Linked DNA regions of Homo sapiens: region 2 is linked to region 1. Evidence: promoter capture Hi-C in human tissues and cell types (Jung and others, 2019). All regions are on one chromosome and are shown on one strand. The core of a region is centred on a gene start or on the middle of the fragment in contact, and the rest is flanking DNA. Distances in the headings are between cores, read along the strand shown.

Evidence for each region. The method cuts DNA at HindIII sites, captures the fragments that hold promoters and counts their contacts. A contact is called where the count stands out against the background at its distance.
Region 2: a contact is called between a fragment that was not itself captured here and the fragment with the promoter of DLK2 in region 1, in 1 of the 25 tissues and cell types used here (neural progenitor cells).

The regions. Positions count from the first base shown.
Region 1 is chr6:43,451,894-43,457,054 of GRCh38, forward strand. DLK2 (delta like non-canonical Notch ligand 2) reads right to left here and starts at 3,655. Exons shown (of 6, transcript NM_023932.4): 1 at 3,502-3,655; 2 at 2,857-2,987; 3 at 2,518-2,581; 4 at 1,112-1,242; 5 at 47-191. The coding sequence starts at 2,932. It also overlaps a transcript of ABCC10 not described here. RefSeq lists enhancers at 2,634-2,683, 4,312-5,153 and silencers at 3,214-3,293, 3,324-3,373, 3,474-3,713. The HindIII fragment of the contact is 12,339 bases long and covers 1-5,161 here.
Region 2 is chr6:43,488,021-43,492,872 of GRCh38, forward strand. All of the region lies in intron 2 of TJAP1 (tight junction associated protein 1), which reads left to right. Among named protein-coding and RNA genes, the nearest start is that of TJAP1, 13 kb to the left of the region's middle. RefSeq lists enhancers at 1,623-2,216, 2,217-2,811. The HindIII fragment of the contact is 8,583 bases long and covers 1-4,852 here.

The sequences.
Region 1 (5,161 bases), core at 2,405-4,904:
AGGTTCTGGTCTAACCTTCCACTCACCCTGAGGGCCCAGCACTCACCCTGCCTGTTCACAGGGTCCAGCCTTGCGCTCGCAGTCACGCCCATGGAAGCCTGGTAAGCACACACAATGGTACTCACCGCCCCCGTCATACATGCACTGGCCTCCATTCTGGCAGGGGGACTGCGTGGTACAGATATGTTCATCTGGAGAGGGGACAGGAAAGGCTCTGGGATAACCCCTCCCATCTGGTCCCCAGACCAGACTTGTCCACGCCTTCCAGGCCCCAGGTTCTGTAGGTGTGGCTATACTACAAACCCAGCCCAGGCTGGCGTGGTATGCTAGGGAGAGACAACAACACTGAATTTGGAGTCAGGAGGCTCCTGGCCCTGGCTCTCAGTCTGTCTCAAACTGACCTTGGGCTGGGTACTGTGGCTCATGCCTGTAATCCCAGCACTTTGGAAGACCAAGGTGGGCAGATGACTTGAGGTCAGGAGTTCAAGACCAGCCTGGCCAACATGGCAAAACCCCATCTCTACTAAAAATACAAACATTAGGCCGGTACAGTGGCTCATGCCTATAATTCCAGCACTTTGGGAGGCCAAGGCGGGTGGATCACTTGAGGTCAGGAGTTCGAGACCAGCCTGGCCAACATGGTGAAACCCTATCTCTACTAAAAATACAAAAATTAGCTGAAGTGGCGGGTGCCTGTAATTCCAGCTACTGGGGAGGCTGAGGCACGAGAATCACTTGAACCCAGGAGGCGGAGGTTACAGTGAGCCGAGATCGCACCACTGCACTCCAGCCTGGGTGACAGAGTGAGACTCCATCTCAAAACAAAACAAACAAAAAAACCTGACTTTGAGCAGGTTATAGCTCTTCTGTGGGCCTTAGTTTCCTCATCTGTAAAATGAGTACAATTTTTAGCAGCTGTGTTTCCTGCCCCATGGGGTTATGTTGAGGATCAATTCAGACAACATATAAAAAGTCTAAGATTTAAAAAAATGATAAAATACCATGTATTTGAGGGTTTGACAAGGACAAAATAGGCACTCAATAAATACTGATGGCTGTTCCCCTAAGAACATGGGGTTCCCAACCAAAAGCTACCCTTCCTCCCCCCTACCTTTGTCACAGAACTTGCCTGCCCAGCCACTGTGGCAGATGCACTGCCATGGCTGGTGGCAGGTACCGTGCTGGCAGCCAGGCATCCTCACACAGCGCTCACAGTGCAGCCCCTCCCAGCCCGGGTCACACCTGACGGGGAGAAGCACAGGGTCAGGGCTCTGGGTCATGGATGTGAAGAAATGGAGGAGACAGAACCAGAGCTTCTAGAAACCAAGAGGACATATGACAGCCCCTAAGGGAAAGCAGACCTGTCCCAGGTAGGTGTAGGACTGTGCAGGGTCATAGGACACATATACGGAATCAGACCATCAGACACCAGCACTCAAACCCTGGTTCTGTACTTTAACCTGAGCCTCAGTTTTCTCACCTGTAAATTGGGGATACACCTTGCAGGGTTGAGTAGAGGAAGAAATAAGATGTCTGTAAATGCCTCCAGTACCCCTCCTGGCATGTCTGAGGTGCTCACAAACATTTAAAGAAGAATGACCTTGAAAGGCCATCAGGGCCGGGGCGTGGTTGCTCACGCCTGTAATCCCAGCACTTTGGGAGGTCGAGGCAGGTGGATCACTTGAGGTCAGGAGTTCAAGACCAGCCTGGCCAACTGGGTGAAACCCCGTCTCTACAAAAAATACAAAAAATTACCCGGGCATGGTGGTGTGCATCTGTAATCCATTATTGAGGAGGCTGAGGCAGGGGAACTTGAACACAAGAGGCAGAGGCTGCAGTGAGCTGAGATCGCGCCACTGCACTCCAGCCTTGGCAACAAAGCGAGACTCTGTCTCAAAAACAAAAAATAAAAATAAAAACAAAAAAGGTCATCAGGACTATCCTCCCACCATGATTCCAGGGCAAACACTTGACCCATATTTTAAAAGCCCTCCAGGGGTGAAGAGTCTCAAAGACCCCCAGCCAATTGAACTACCTGCCTCATCAACTCATTTCCTTATGTCCACTTTCCTCCTGCTACAGAATTTGCCCAATCTCCCAGTGAGTCAACTACTCAAACTCATCAAGAAAGATCCTCTTTCATTGTAAGTGTTTCTCCCCAGCAACTCTCCCTGCAGCATTTCTTTTCCAGGCTAAACCATTTCTCTTTCCCTTTTTCCTTTATCTTTCCATTTCCTCATGGCACCCAATCCCCAAGCTCTCTCAAGCTTTAGGTCTCTCTCCCTGTCAGGAGTTCAGACAATCCCTGGATCAGACTTGGGAGATTAAAGAAGTGGGGAGATAAAAACTAGAAGAAGCAAGAGAGGTGAGGTAAAGGGGAAAGGGGGACTGGCCAGTCAGCCATAGGAGTGATGAGGCATGAAGAGTAGAGTCTGAAGCCCCTAGACACTGTTGTGCACGTGAAGGGCTTAGAAATGGGTACCAAAGGGTTTGGGGGCACGTGCTCAGGACAGGTACCTGCAGGAGCCGTCAGGTGCACAGCAGCCGTGGGCCAGGTCACAGTGGGAGCTGCAGTCATCGGCTGCAAGAGATTGATGTGGGAGGGGTGAGTCTGAGTCAGGGCACAGCTCGCTGGGATGCGGGACTCAGGAGAGGATTGGGGTTCCAGTAACTGAGCGGACTCAACCCTAGGGCAGGACATAACACAGAAACTCATCCCATTCCAAAAAGGCAACCTCGGTCTTGCTTGCCCCGCGGGTCGGAGCGACTGCAGTGCCGCCTCCGGCCGGCAGAGGTCAACGTGCAAGCGAGGACGGCTGGACAGGGCCGCGACTGGAGCCCAGCGGGCGCGCTCACCTCGGACAGGCTGACCGGGAGCCCCCAGAATGCACAACAGGCACACGAGATGCAGGCAGCGGCAGCCGCTGGGCATGGTCAGCGCCGGCCCCAGGAGGGACGGACGGATGGACGGCCGGACGCGTGGACACCTGTGGGACGGCACCGGTTGGGAGGCGGCCGGACGCGGAGATAGCGGCACGGATACGGGTTCCAAGTGACAGGAGCCGACGAGGGAGAGGGGCGCCGGGACAGAAGAAGGGGATGGGGGTAGCGGGAGGATGGGGGCAGGGAAGGGTTGAGCAGGCGAAGAGAGCGAGGAGAGCGAAGACAGGAACCCGGGAGCGGGGTCTGCAAGGAGGGGAAAGATGGGCATCGCGGAGCGAGGCCAGGCGCGGGAATGGCTGGGGTTGGGATCGTAGTCAGGACGGAGGGGTCCGCGGGATGGGGACAGCGCCGAGAGGCGGCCTCGAGCACGGAGGGGACGCGGGGGCCGGAGGGAAGGACGGTTCCCGGCAGCGAGCAGTCTCCGCCCCACAGCTCCGACAGCCCCCCCCCCCGCCACCACCACTCTCTCCCACGTCCCCTTTCTATCTCCGCCGCGCTGGGTTCGGCGGCGGCGCGGGGCCTGGAATCCCCACCGCGCCCTGTCCCCGCAGTCCTCACCTCCGGCGGGGAGGTGGCGCGCCCCGGGGCGCAGAGAGAGGCCGGATCCGACGGGCGCCGCCGAGGGGCCGTGAGGGAGCGCGGGGCCGCCCCTAGCTGGCCGCGGGGCCGGGCGCCGAAGCGGCTGCCATGCGAGCCGAGCGCTCGGGAATCTGGGGCTCCAGGCGACCCCGAGCGGCGGCAGCGGCTGCTCCTCGCGCGCGCTCAGGCCCCCTGCCAGGGGCGGAGCCCGCCCCCACCCCCATCCCCCCCCCCGCGACGCACGGCGCACACCTAGCACCCGGCGCGCCCCGGGGCCCCGGCCCTCCGCGGCTACCCAACGCCCCGAACCCAGCTTCCTTCCAAGAGAGGAGGAAATCTTAGGAGTCTCAATGGGAGCAAACTATTAAGCCAAAGGAGCGCAACCCCGTTATTCTCTCATCTCCCATGCCCACTTTCCCGACCAGCGCTCCGCGGCCCACGCCCCAGCCCTGCCTTCGCTTGTCCGCCGCTCATCACGCTTCTCATATAGATCTATGCACACGCAGGCAATCGCTCCCCGCCCTCCGCCTGTCACCAGCCCACGCCTCCCCGCTTGTAAAGCCTTCATCACCTGCTTCATCTGTGTGCTCCTCTGCTCCTCCTCGCCCTCCGCTTCTTCCTGTCCACGTTGCCGTCTCCAGCCTTCCAAGATCAACCTATCCCTATATAAATATCAACCCGATCCACCCAACCACACCCCGGCCCTACCCCCACCACCCTTCCCTCCCTCAAGTCTCAGCCCTTCCACCCCATTCCTTTTTGTGACTGCCTCTGAGAATCCTTTCTGGACTGGGAATGCCCCTGACTCTGTAAATGTGCACACAAAACCCCCTCCACCGCCAAGTCTTCTCCTGTACCCCATCACGTTCGTCCTTGGCCTCAGGCTAAACCTCAACTGCCCAAACCTGGAGCTCAGATTCAGAGAGTAACGGAGGGGGAGTGGGGGAAAGCTGCCCTCCAGGCCTCTTTGCCCCCTTCTGGCTAATGGCTCAGAGACACATTTCAAGACAAGGACCCAGCCAAGCTCGGTGGGCTCACGCCTATAATTCCAGCACTTTGGGAGGCTGAGGCGGGCGGATCACCTGAGGTCAGGAGTTCGAGACCAGCCTGGCCAACATGGTGAAACCCGTCTCTATTAAAAATACAGAAATTAGCCAGGCGTGGTGGTGCGCGCCTGTAATCCCAGCTACTCGGAAGGCTGAGGCAGGAAAATCGCTTGAAAACCCGGGAGGCAGACGTTGCAGTTAGCCAAGATCGCGCCACTGCACTCCAGCTTGGGGGACAGAGCAAAACTCCGACCCCCGCCCCCCCCCAAAAAAAGACAAGGACCCAGAACATAATTTCTAGTTTGTGCAGGACAACAGGGCAGAGGTCAGGAACGCTAGCGCCCATCTCTAGTCCTTCAGATTGAGATTTCACCATCTTTAAATTCAAAACATCGGAAGGAGCAGTCGCTAGTCGGGGCAGAGCAGCTTCCCACCTTCACACAGCCACCTCCACAGGCACAGAGCCCCAGGGCTCATTTTTCCTGCAGTCTCCATTGGATATAACACTTACACCCACTCAGCTCCCTAGCTGGCCTCCTCTCAGCTGTGATCGCCTCTTCCCTGAAGAGCTCTCTGAATTTGAGTAATGACAT
Region 2 (4,852 bases), core at 1,466-3,965, 35 kb after region 1:
CAACACGCCCAGCTAATTTTTTGTATTTTTAGTAGAGACGGGGGTTTCACCATGTTGGCCAGGCTGGTCTTGAATTCCTGACCTCAGGTGATCCGCCTGCCTCAGCTTCCCAAAGTGCTGGGATTACAGGCATGAGCCACTGCACCTGGCCTCTAATAGCTTTTTTTATACGTCTAGACATTCCTCACCAAAACTCAATATTAATACAGACTCTTCTTCAGCTTTCTTTGTTGACTTAAGTGACCAAGGAGTGGAATGGTCCCTGTTGGAGCCGCTGAGGAGCCTGGTTACAGCCTCCTTCCCAGTCGAGTGAGTTCCTCTGGGGCTGGCTCCCTGGGAGGGATGGAGAAGTTTTACTAGAGGGTCTTGCCACAGCAGGCACCCTGGCTGTCTCTGAGGGACATTTTTTTATTCTGAGATGAAATTGGCAGGAGTGTCCTTGAGTGGGAATCAGGATGGATATAACAGCGATGTGGGCATTGGCACTCCCATCTCACCTGTGTCTCTCCCCTTCACTCATTTCATTTTTGCCTTGGAAAAGAGAAAAATTATCTGATTTCTCAAATCCTATATTAGTGCAGTGAGAGTCCCTGATTTCTGAAACCTTGAATTAGCCATGTCACTTGCTGCTCTTTTAAAAGCACACCAGACCCAGTTGGTGTTTTTGTTTTCTTGTGGGTGAGGATTCTGAAGGTCACCTGTCAGTGGCTGTGCTCAGTCTAGAGCAGGGGTCAGGGCCTGTCGGAAGAGTTGTTGTCTTTTTTTTCTAGACAGTTGTCTCATCTTCATAGTCAGGCCTTGGCCTATTTGAGCTCTTGGGCTGTAGTCAGAGCAACATGGGGAGCCCAGTGTGTAGGCAATTATTGGAAGTGTTTCCTGTCTGCGTGAATCTTGATCCTAGGCTTGGGAAAAGGCCAGGCCCACCTCTGTGGCCAGGGTGGTGACTCTTCCCTTTTTGCCCTGAGTCATCAGAGAGCCTGCAGGGCTTCCTAGAACAGGAGAGAGGACCCCTCTCTTGTCTTTTCCCTGCCAACATCTTACCCTCTGCTAAGCATCAGTGGGTGTGGATATATGTGTTGCAGTCCTGTCCTCCCGCCCCAGGGGACACATCTTGTGGGGTCTCTGGAATGCCACTGCTTTTGCCTCATTTGCCTTGCAGTCTGTGAGCTAGAGGTGTCACTTCCCCCAGGGTGGTCTGGAGGCTTCATGGAAGAGTTGTTTCTGCCGTTGATGGGAGAGCTTCTTGCTCTGTTGCTCGTGTTGCTTGTTCTGAGAGGGGAGAATAGTCCCTGTTGCTCCTCTGGGGCTGGTTCCCTGGGAAGTGCCACCCCTGGCCAGGCGGCAGTGTGCAGCCCGTGCTGTTGACTGGCCCAGCTGTAGGCCAGGCACACACTGCCCCATTGTACTGTGCTTTCCGACGCAGCCCTTGTCATAGCCTCTAATCCTTGGGCTGCTTCTCTCCCAGCCCCTCAGAGCCTGTGGGAGGTGGTGGGATGGACTCTGCTGGCACTGGTGCGGGATGGGTTGCAGCTGCAGCTGTGGGTGGCTTTGTTCTTACAGCCTAGCTTTCAGAGTCCTGGTGCAGCCTGGCAGCAGTGTTTGGGGAACAGGCGAGATAGAGGAGCTGAGCCCCTTCTCCAACAGCCGTCCTCTCTTTCTGTTGACCAACCAGAGAGGCTTTTTGCCTGAGGTCAGCAAGCTGGCCTCCCTGGTTGGCAGGGGGAGTGCTTGGCTTCCATCTGGCATGGTTTCCGGATGGGAGAAAGCCCCTGAGGGTCTGGTGGTAAGTCTGCGATGCTTCCCATCAGGAGAGTGCAGTGTGCAGTGTGTCCCCTTGGGCATCCTGCAGCTTGCCATTCCTCTGCTTTCTCTCTGCAGCTCCGGAGTTGGGCTGCTCACAAACCAAGCTGTCTGTTTATATGGAGTGCCTGGAGGGCATCTGCCATGAGTCTGTCGCTAACTGCACTAACCAGGAGAGCTGGCTGGTTGGGGAGAAGACACTAACCCTGTGAGTCTGACCTCAGCCAGCTAACCTGCCCTGGGGTGCCACCAGCAGGGCCTCTGTCCTCCATCCTTCCCCGCAGCCTGGCTGCCTCCCTCCTTAGCTTATATCACGCCATCTCCTCTGCTCTCTTGTTCTTACTACTGCGTCCCTCTATTTTCCCAGTCTCCCTTTGCTGTGGGTGGGGATGTGCCCCCTTCACGGCCACCTGCCCATCACCAGCCTGCTGCTGGGCTCCACTGACCACCCCCCACCGTCACCCTTCCCCGAGTCAGCAGCGTGCTCTTCACTTCTCCCTTCATACAGAATTGGTTCGAGTTTCTGTTGAATCTGTGCTTTTAGCACAGAGTTTGAGAAGATCCCTCAATTACCATGCTGCTGCTGCTTCTCATGCCTCAGAGACAGATGAACTAGAGTGGGAAGGGACTTTTCTCCTAGATCAGATCATTTCCTCCCTTTATCAAGAAGGGAAGGTTGGATAGTGTCCCTGTTACTCTCACCCTAGGATAAGAAGTTAGGATCAGCTGCAAGGTTCTCTTTAGGATTGGGGAGGTAGAGGAAAACCTTGACCTGGTTCTGGGGAATTCCCTGGGCAGAAAAGTGAAGCTACTTAAACTGAATGCTGGGGCCCCAAACCAGGGACCCATGTGAGATGTCACTCCCATTGGTGACCGTTGCTCTGGGAGGTGAAGTTTGTCCCCCCCACCTCTTTTCACATCCGGAGTTTCTGGTGGACTTTAGCCATGAAAAGCTGGGAAGGGTGCCTCAGTAGAGTGGGGGCAGGACCTGGCTTCGGATTCCACACTGGGCTCAGAAAAAGTCCTGGCCTCAGACTGGGAGATGGGTGCGTGCAGCCTGGCTTGGAGAAGCTCCCACGCAGTCCCTTCTCCCTCCAGGCTTGGGAAGGAGAGGCGGGTCTGGAGATCATGAGAAAGTTGATTGCCTGTTGTTTCCTGGTGTTCCACACAGGTCACTCTAGATAGACTGTGGCTTCGGCTTCCGGAGGCAGTGTGGTGCTAGGGAGGCTGGACAGGGGGAGCTTGAGAACAGAAGGCTGCCTAAGTGGATTCTGTTCCCCTTGGGCTGGGTGAGAGAAGGCAGCAGCCTACCAGCACTGGGTGGGAGCTTGTAAATGGGAGAGGGTGTGTTATGGGCCCGGAGCGAGGAGGATAGCACTCCTGAGCGGGATGATGATTTCTCGGAGGTTGATAGATTAAGAGACCAAAGTTGGTGGGGGATATCCATGTTGACCAGAAATATCTGTTTGTTTTTTTGGGTTTTTTTTGAGACAGAGTTTCGCTCTTGTTGCCCAGGCTGGAGTGCAATGGCACGATCTCGGCTTTCTGCAACCTCCGCCTCCCAGGTTTAAGCGATTCTCTTACCTCAGCCTCCCGAGTAGCTGGGATTACAGGCATGCGCCACCACGCCCGGCTCATTTTGTATTTTTAGTAGAGACGGGGTTTCTCCATGTTAGTCAGGCTGGTCTCGAACTCCCGACCTCAGGTGATCTGCCCGCCTTGGCCTCCCAAAGTGTTGGGATTACAGGTATGAGCCACTGTGCCTGGCCCGATGAGAAATATCTTGATGAAAATGCACTACGTCCAATAAATGAATATATGTACTATGCAATATTAAGGATTTATAGTACTGATCAATATCCATGTGGAAATGAATTTTATTATATGATTAATAATAGTGAATGTATGATAGTTGATTAAGGAATAAACAATACCTATTTATATGCATGTGGATTGAGCTTATAATGTATTATATATGAGTGTACTATGTACAAATAAACATTTATAGTACTATATATTATTCATGGGGACTAGCAGTAATGCAGAGATGTTTAGGGACCCCAAATGGGGAGTTAACAAGCTGGAGGCTTTCTTGACTTGGCTCTGACCAGGAAAGCAAAAGGGCCTGGAGTTGAGGCCTGGTTGAGGGCCGGTCCTTCACTTTGGCCTTTCTTAGGAGAGGGCATGGGGTCTAATGTCAAATGCAGGCTATGACCTTGGGGATTTCTTGCCCTCTTTTTTTGCAGGGAGGGGTTGGTTTGCCTGGCTCTTTAGCCCCTTGTTCCTGTGAAGTGTTTGTCTGGATGTGAGGCCAGGTGGATAGACTTGGAAGTGTTTGCTCATGTGGGAGCCAGATGAGCTCTCACAGGTCACCAGCACTGTTCTGAGTCCTCAGGATTGCTTTGGGGCAGAATAATTCCCACTCTTTTTGGCTTTCAAAACCCTGTCAATCTGTTTGGTTTAGAGTAGGCAGGGGGCCAGGTCAGGGCTGCAGGCAACTTGTCCCAAGAGGGTGAGGTTGTACTTGCCCAGAGGGGTGGCGGGCATAGCTGTTGGAGGGGCAGCAGGGCTGGTCTGGGCACAGACTGACATCTTCTAGCCTTGTCTTCAGCCCAGAGCAGAACCTCTGCCCAGTCCCCACCCTATGAGCTGTTGGCTGCCTGCCTGCCACGCGCCCGGGATTGCTGAAGGCTTTACTCATGTATCTCAGGAACAGCTGCATGCCGGAAACTGGGGGCTGGTGGCAAGCAGGAGGGGTACCCCGGAGACGATGTGGGCGAGGCCGAACCCAGTTTTGGTGGGATCAGCCCACTGCTCTGGGGGACTGCTATTCATGGGGAGTCAGTGGGAGAGGGGCTGTATTAATGGTGCAAGGAGTGGGGATCTTCATGAGCAATCCCCAGGACCAAGGCCAGGTCACCTGGTTCCAGGGCTTACGCTTGCAGGGTGACCATTTGTGTTCCTTAGACATCAGTTGGGGGCAGAGACTGGATTTCAGAGGCTTGAGAAGCGGCCAGACTTGTGTGGCGGGAGTGTAGCTGACCCCCACTGG